Regions from separate parts of the Homo sapiens genome. Here region 2 is linked to region 1. The links are contacts of gene promoters, found by promoter capture Hi-C in blood cells and fetal thymus (Javierre and others, 2016). All regions are on one chromosome and are shown on one strand. Each heading gives the region's core, a stretch centred on a gene start or on the middle of the fragment in contact. The rest is flanking DNA. Distances are from core to core; before and after follow the strand shown. Region 1 holds the start of NOVA2 (NOVA alternative splicing regulator 2). Region 2 has its middle 14 kb from the start of NANOS2.

What was found. The method cuts DNA at HindIII sites, captures the fragments that hold promoters and counts their contacts. A CHiCAGO score of 5 or more calls a contact.
Region 2: a fragment that was not itself captured here is called in contact with the fragment with the promoter of NOVA2 in region 1 in 1 of 17 cell types (endothelial precursors); the score reaches 5.5 in endothelial precursors.

What each region holds. Positions count from the first base shown.
Region 1 is chr19:45,972,601-45,975,300 of GRCh38, forward strand. NOVA2 (NOVA alternative splicing regulator 2) reads right to left here and starts at 1,265. Exons shown (of 4, transcript NM_002516.4): 1 at 667-1,265. The coding sequence starts at 751. RefSeq lists a silencer at 1,431-1,590. The HindIII fragment of the contact is 31,968 bases long and covers 1-2,700 here.
Region 2 is chr19:45,926,945-45,929,800 of GRCh38, forward strand. No RefSeq gene overlaps it. Among named protein-coding and RNA genes, the nearest start is that of NANOS2, 14 kb to the left of the region's middle. RefSeq lists enhancers at 22-522, 828-897. The HindIII fragment of the contact is 1,055 bases long and covers 968-2,022 here.

The DNA of each region.
Region 1 (2,700 bases), core at 15-2,514:
CATACACCCCCCTATGCTGTCATATTCCTGATCCCTAATGTCACACATCCAGGCTGTAGAGGGCACACATACACACACACGCACACACATACACACCTGTCCTAGCCTCACATTCTCCCACCTAGCTTTACACACCCACCATTTCCTCCATTTCACCCCACACACCTACCCAGCCTGTCCCCACGCACGATCCGGCCAGGGCCACACAAGCCTCCATCTGGGACAACCCTTGTTCAGGACATCCCCAGGGAGGGAGGCTGGGAAGCTCCCGGTCCACAGGCCTCTACTCCTTCCCCTCCCCCAGCCAGGACACGCGAGCTCGGGGAACACCCCTGCTCCGAAAGGGTCACATCACACACCCCTCAAGGACACACAGACACCTGCCCTGAGGCTCCCACGCCCCCCATCTTCTGCGCCCCCCAAGGACACTTATCACCCCCTCCCCCCCACCCCTCTCCTCGCAGACAAAGCTCCCAGCCCCGGGCCTCAGCGAGAGGAGGAGGGGGTCCAGCCCCCTCCTCAACTCCCCGCTCTGTCCCCCGCCTCGGGGAGGGGTGTCTCTCCCCTCCCCAGAGCCCTTGCACCTGCCACGGGAGGGGGGGAAAGGATGGAGAAAGGCGAGGCCCCCTGCCCGCTCCCCCGCCCCGAGCCGCAGCCCTTTCTCACCTCCCGTGTTGCTGCGCTTGGTGCAGACCACCTCGGGGGGCGTTTCGAGGGGCCTCTTGCGGGAATCCGGGGCCTCGGGCTCCATGGGGGGGGCCTGGGGCGGCGGCTGCTGCTGCTGCGGCGGCTGCGGCGGCGGCGGCGGCGGCTGCTGTGGCGGCGGCGACGGCTGCTGGGGAGGCTGGGGTTGCGGCGGCGGCGGCGGCGGGGGCGGCGGCGGCTGCGGGGCCGCGGAGGCCGTGAAGAGGCCGTGCACCGCGCCGGCGGCCATCATCCTCATGGTGGGGGGGGGCGGGGGGCGGGGGGCGGGGGAGGGGGAGGGGAGGGGAGGTGGGAGGGGGAGGGGGCGGTGGAGGGATGGGGGAGGGGGAGCCCCGGAGAGGGAAGGCGGGGGTAGGGGGGAGCCGGTTCTCGGGGGGCTGACAGAGCCTGGAGAGCGGCCGTGAGCAGGATGGCAGGGCCGAGGGGGGTCTCCGATAGGGCCGGGAAAGAACTGAGAGGTGGGGTCTCTCCTGGGACCACAGAGGCTGGGGACTGGACGCGCCACTGGGGGGACGGGACTCCCCGCTTCTTCTTGGCTCCCTGGGGCAAGAGGGCCGAGCCCCCCAGACCCTGCTCGGGGTGGGGGGCCGGAGGAGCGTGGCCGGAGTGGGAGGCGGAGGCGGCCGCTAGTGGGGGCCCGGGGGGCGGCGGGCGCGGGCGGCGGCGGCGACGGGGCTGGCGGTGGCTGCTGGCCCGAGCATCTTCTTCCCGGAGGCTCCCACAGCGCCTGGCCCCTCCCACCCAACGAGGTCACGCCCATGCCGGGTAGGGCCACGCCCTTCGGCGCCCCCATTGGTCCAGCCTTGAAGCCTGGACCACGTCCCTCTGGGTTGGCCACGCCCCTCCCGGCGGCAGAGAGCTGGACCCGACTCCCCCAGGCTGCTGGGAGGACCCCGGGCTCCTCCAAGCCGTCCCCACTCCTCACCTTGAATGAACGTTTATTGAGCACTTACTGTGTGCCAGGTCCGGTTCCAAGCAAGCACGTCACAGACGTTATCGCATTTACTCCCCAGAGCGACCAGCTCTGTGAGTTACGCTTATTATCCCTATTTTACAGATGAGGAAACAGCCTTAGGAGCTTACTTTGACTTCACTTGGTCAAGACAAGAAATTTCGACTAGGCGCGGTGGTTCATGCCTGTCATCCCAGCACTTTGGGAGGCCGAGGCGGAAGAATCACTTGAGCCCAGGAGTTTGAGACGAGCTGGGCAACAATATTGTGAGACCCCATCTCTACAAAAAAAAAATTTTTTTTTTAATTAGCCAGGCGTGGTAGCACATGCTTGTAGCCCCAGGTACTCTGGAGTCTGAGGTGGGAGGATCTCTTGAGCACAGGAGTTTGAGGCTGCAGTCAGCCATGATCAAGCAACTAGATTCGAGCCTGGGAGACAGAGCAAAACCTTGTCTCAAAAAAAAAAAAAAAAAAGAAAGAAAGAAAGAGAAAGAAATTTCACTTCACTCTTTTTCAATCCTTTCAGCTGGGAAATTCCCCTTCAAATCTTTCATCCATCCTTTGAAGAATCAACACCGTGATGCTGAAAGGGCTCAGAGGATTGAATTCACTGAGCTGGAGTTGCAGCCTGCAGCACCTGCCCTGGGGCACAACTGGCTCTCCATTCAAACAACAGCACTCAGGGCCTACCTACTAAGTGCCAGGCACTGTCCCTGATGCTGCGATACAATAGAGAACAAAACAGCCTTGGCCCTTGTACAGTATTACTACTCATGTCATTAAGAAAAATTTGTTTTCAGATGACAAAGTGGAGGCCTGGGAACATTGAGGGTGGCTTCTTCAAGGGCACACAGCTTGAGAGAGAGAAACTGGGATGAGAACGCAGGACAAGTCCAATTTCAGAGCCCAAAGTCATTGGAACTAGGGTGCCTTTCTTTGGAATGGATCATTGCTATTATTCTGTGTTCCTTGATGCAAGAATTTCCTTCTCCCTGGGTTCTTAACCTCCAAGGAATCTTTCCTTCCTGGGTTGGTCAGAGGCAA
Region 2 (2,856 bases), core at 245-2,744, 45 kb before region 1:
CCCACTGTGGCCACTCCAACTCTAGCCAGTAACTCACCGGTCTCTTTCGGTTCACGTTGCCTACCTGGAGGTGCTTGATCTTTCCACCTGCAGGGAGAGCAGCTGAGAAATGCCAAAGCATGGGTCCTGTTCCTGGCTTGTCTGTGGAACTACGGGACACCCATGTCTTACCTCTCCCTCCTCTTCTTCCTTAGGGATCTGAGCTTCTGGTTCAGCTGAGAGTGGGGTGAAGGTCAAGAGGGAGATCCCCGATAGTAAGGTTGGAACTGAGGATGAGGATAATGGTGAGGCAGGGGGCTATGAGAATTGGCACTGGTCATACAGGTGGTGACCAAGAAAAAGGACAGAGAAGGCCATAGAGATGGAAGAATTGAAATAAAACGAGCGTGGGGGCCAGGCACGGTGGCTCGCCTGTAATGCCAGCACTTTGGGAGGCCGAGGCAGGTGGATCACCTGAGGTCGGGAGTTCGAGACCAGCCTGGCCAACGTGGCAAAACCCCATCTCTACTAAAAATACAAAAATTAGCCGGGCGTGGTGGTGGGTGCCTGTAGTCCCAGCTACTCGGGAGGCTGAGGCAGGAGAATCGCGGAGGTTGCACTGAGCCGAGATCGCGCCATTGCACCCCAGTCTGGGCGACAGAGCGAGACTCTGTCTCAAACTAAACAAAAACAAAAACAAATTCTGGAGAGTGAAAAAGATGGGGGGGAAAATCAAACCAAGGAGACAGAACACACACGAAGACAGCAAGTGAGATTATACATGCACGTAAAAACAGAGATGGACAGAGAGAGAGGGCGTGCAACCACGTGGAGGAGGTGTGGCGCCTCTCAACATCTATTCCACTCTCCTAGCGCACCTTCCTGCGACTGCAGCGGCTGGAGGGCTCAAAACTACGTTTCCCAGAATGCCTTGTGGCTGCGCATGTGGCCGGAGGTTAGGTTCCACCAATCAGGTGCCTCCGCGGGAAGCTTGAATTTCTTACCGAAGTAAGCTGGGCGAGAGGCAGCCCGAAGGCCAGTGCAGATCCCGGCGAGAGGCTGCGGCGGTGGAGCCGGCTGGCGGCTTCCTGATCGCGCAGGAGGAGCAGCGGTTCCTGGACGGCCCTTTCTGAGCGCTGGATTTGAGAATGCCCTGGAGGCTCAGCCTAGATTCTGTTTCTTCTGAGAGGCTCTGTGTCCCTTAATAAGTCCTTTTTGCTTACACTGTCCCAAGTGAATTCTGTTCGCGCCTCTGAGCAACGATGGGTACACAGACAGGGAGAAATAGATGCAGACACGGACAGAGACAGGGAAAGTGATTCAGGGAGACACACAGAGACCCCATCCCTGCGAAGAGACAAGGAGAAAGACAATTCTGCAGAAGTGGGGTGGAGATGCAGGAAAAAAAATCAATGGGAGAAGGAAGACCTGGTTAGACAGACACTCAGAGAAATACGGAAGATAACAGGCAGAGAGGAGTGAGAGGCAAGGGCAGGTGGGCCAGAAACAGGGACACGGAGACCTCACCAGAATGCTGGCGTGAAGGTGTTGGTTGAGAGGCCTCATTTTAAATATTTATTTATTTATTTATTTAGGGACGGACTCTCGGTCTGTCGCCCAGGCTGGAGTGTAGTGGCGCAATCTCCCCTCACTGCAACCTCCACCTCCGGGTTCAGCAATTCTCCTGCCTCAGCCTCCCGAGTAGCTGGGATTACAAGCATCTGCCATCTCGCCTGGCTAATTTTTGTATTATTAGTAGAGACGGGGTTTCACCATGTTGGCCAGGCTGGTCTCGAACTCCTGACCTCAGGTGATCCGCCCACCTCGGCCTCCCAAAGTGCCGGGATTACAGGTGTGAGCCACCGCGCCCGGCCGGAGAGGCCTCTTTAGAGAACAGACTTCTCTGAAGGCATGGCAGTTGAAGGCAGGAGAATGGAGGGGACTTTGGAGAAATCTCTGACTTGCTAGACTCTCTGATTTTGGTGGCAGCGAGCATTTGCCTGGCAGAACGTCTCTTTGTCCCAGCACCTATTCCCAGCCCAAAGCTTCATCAGCTCTGACTGCGGAGGGGGTAGTGCCCCTGAAAGTGTTTCCCATTCTCCATCACTTGCCCCTGAGGCCTTGTCCCCCAAAACCAGCCCCCACTTGACAGCTTGGTAGGAGTGAGAACAGTGACTCAACTGGTTTTAATGTGTGAGGCAGATTCCAGGAGTAGTGACTGACTGAGGAACTAAGAGGAGTTGGGGGTGGCGGGAGGGACAGAAGGACTGCAAAACAGGGACACCAACGAAAAAAGAGAGGGAAACGTAGGGACAGAAAGCAGGGAGCGTGTGAGGCAGGGAAAGTGGAGACTGAGAAACTAGGGGCAGAGAGAGGGAGGGATCCAGGGGCTGAGAGAGGGGACAGAGGGGAGACAGAGGTGGGGGGCAGAGGGACAGAGAGGAGGGGCAGAGGAGGGGGACAGAAAGACAGAGAGGGGGAGGATGAACAGAGAGAAGGAGACAGAAGGACAGAGAGAGGGAGACAGAGGGACAGGGGGGACAGAGGGACAGGATGGGGAGCAGAGGGACAGAGGGAGGGAGGATGGAGGAACATAGAGAGGGGACAGAGAGATGGGGGGCACAGAGGGACAGAGAAGGGTGACAGAAGGGCAGAGAGGAAAGGGATACAGGAGTTACGGGCAGTAAGCTGGGCATGCCCCAGTTGGGATTCCAGATGGTGGACGCCTCGGCTCCTTTAACCAGTTCTCCTGGCTTTTTTTGTTGCCCCTCAGATTTCTTTTTGTTTTCCTCCACCTAAGGTTGCCAGGTAAAATACAGGATGCCCAGTTTCATTTGAATTTTAGATAAGCAACAATTCATATTGTAGCATACGTAT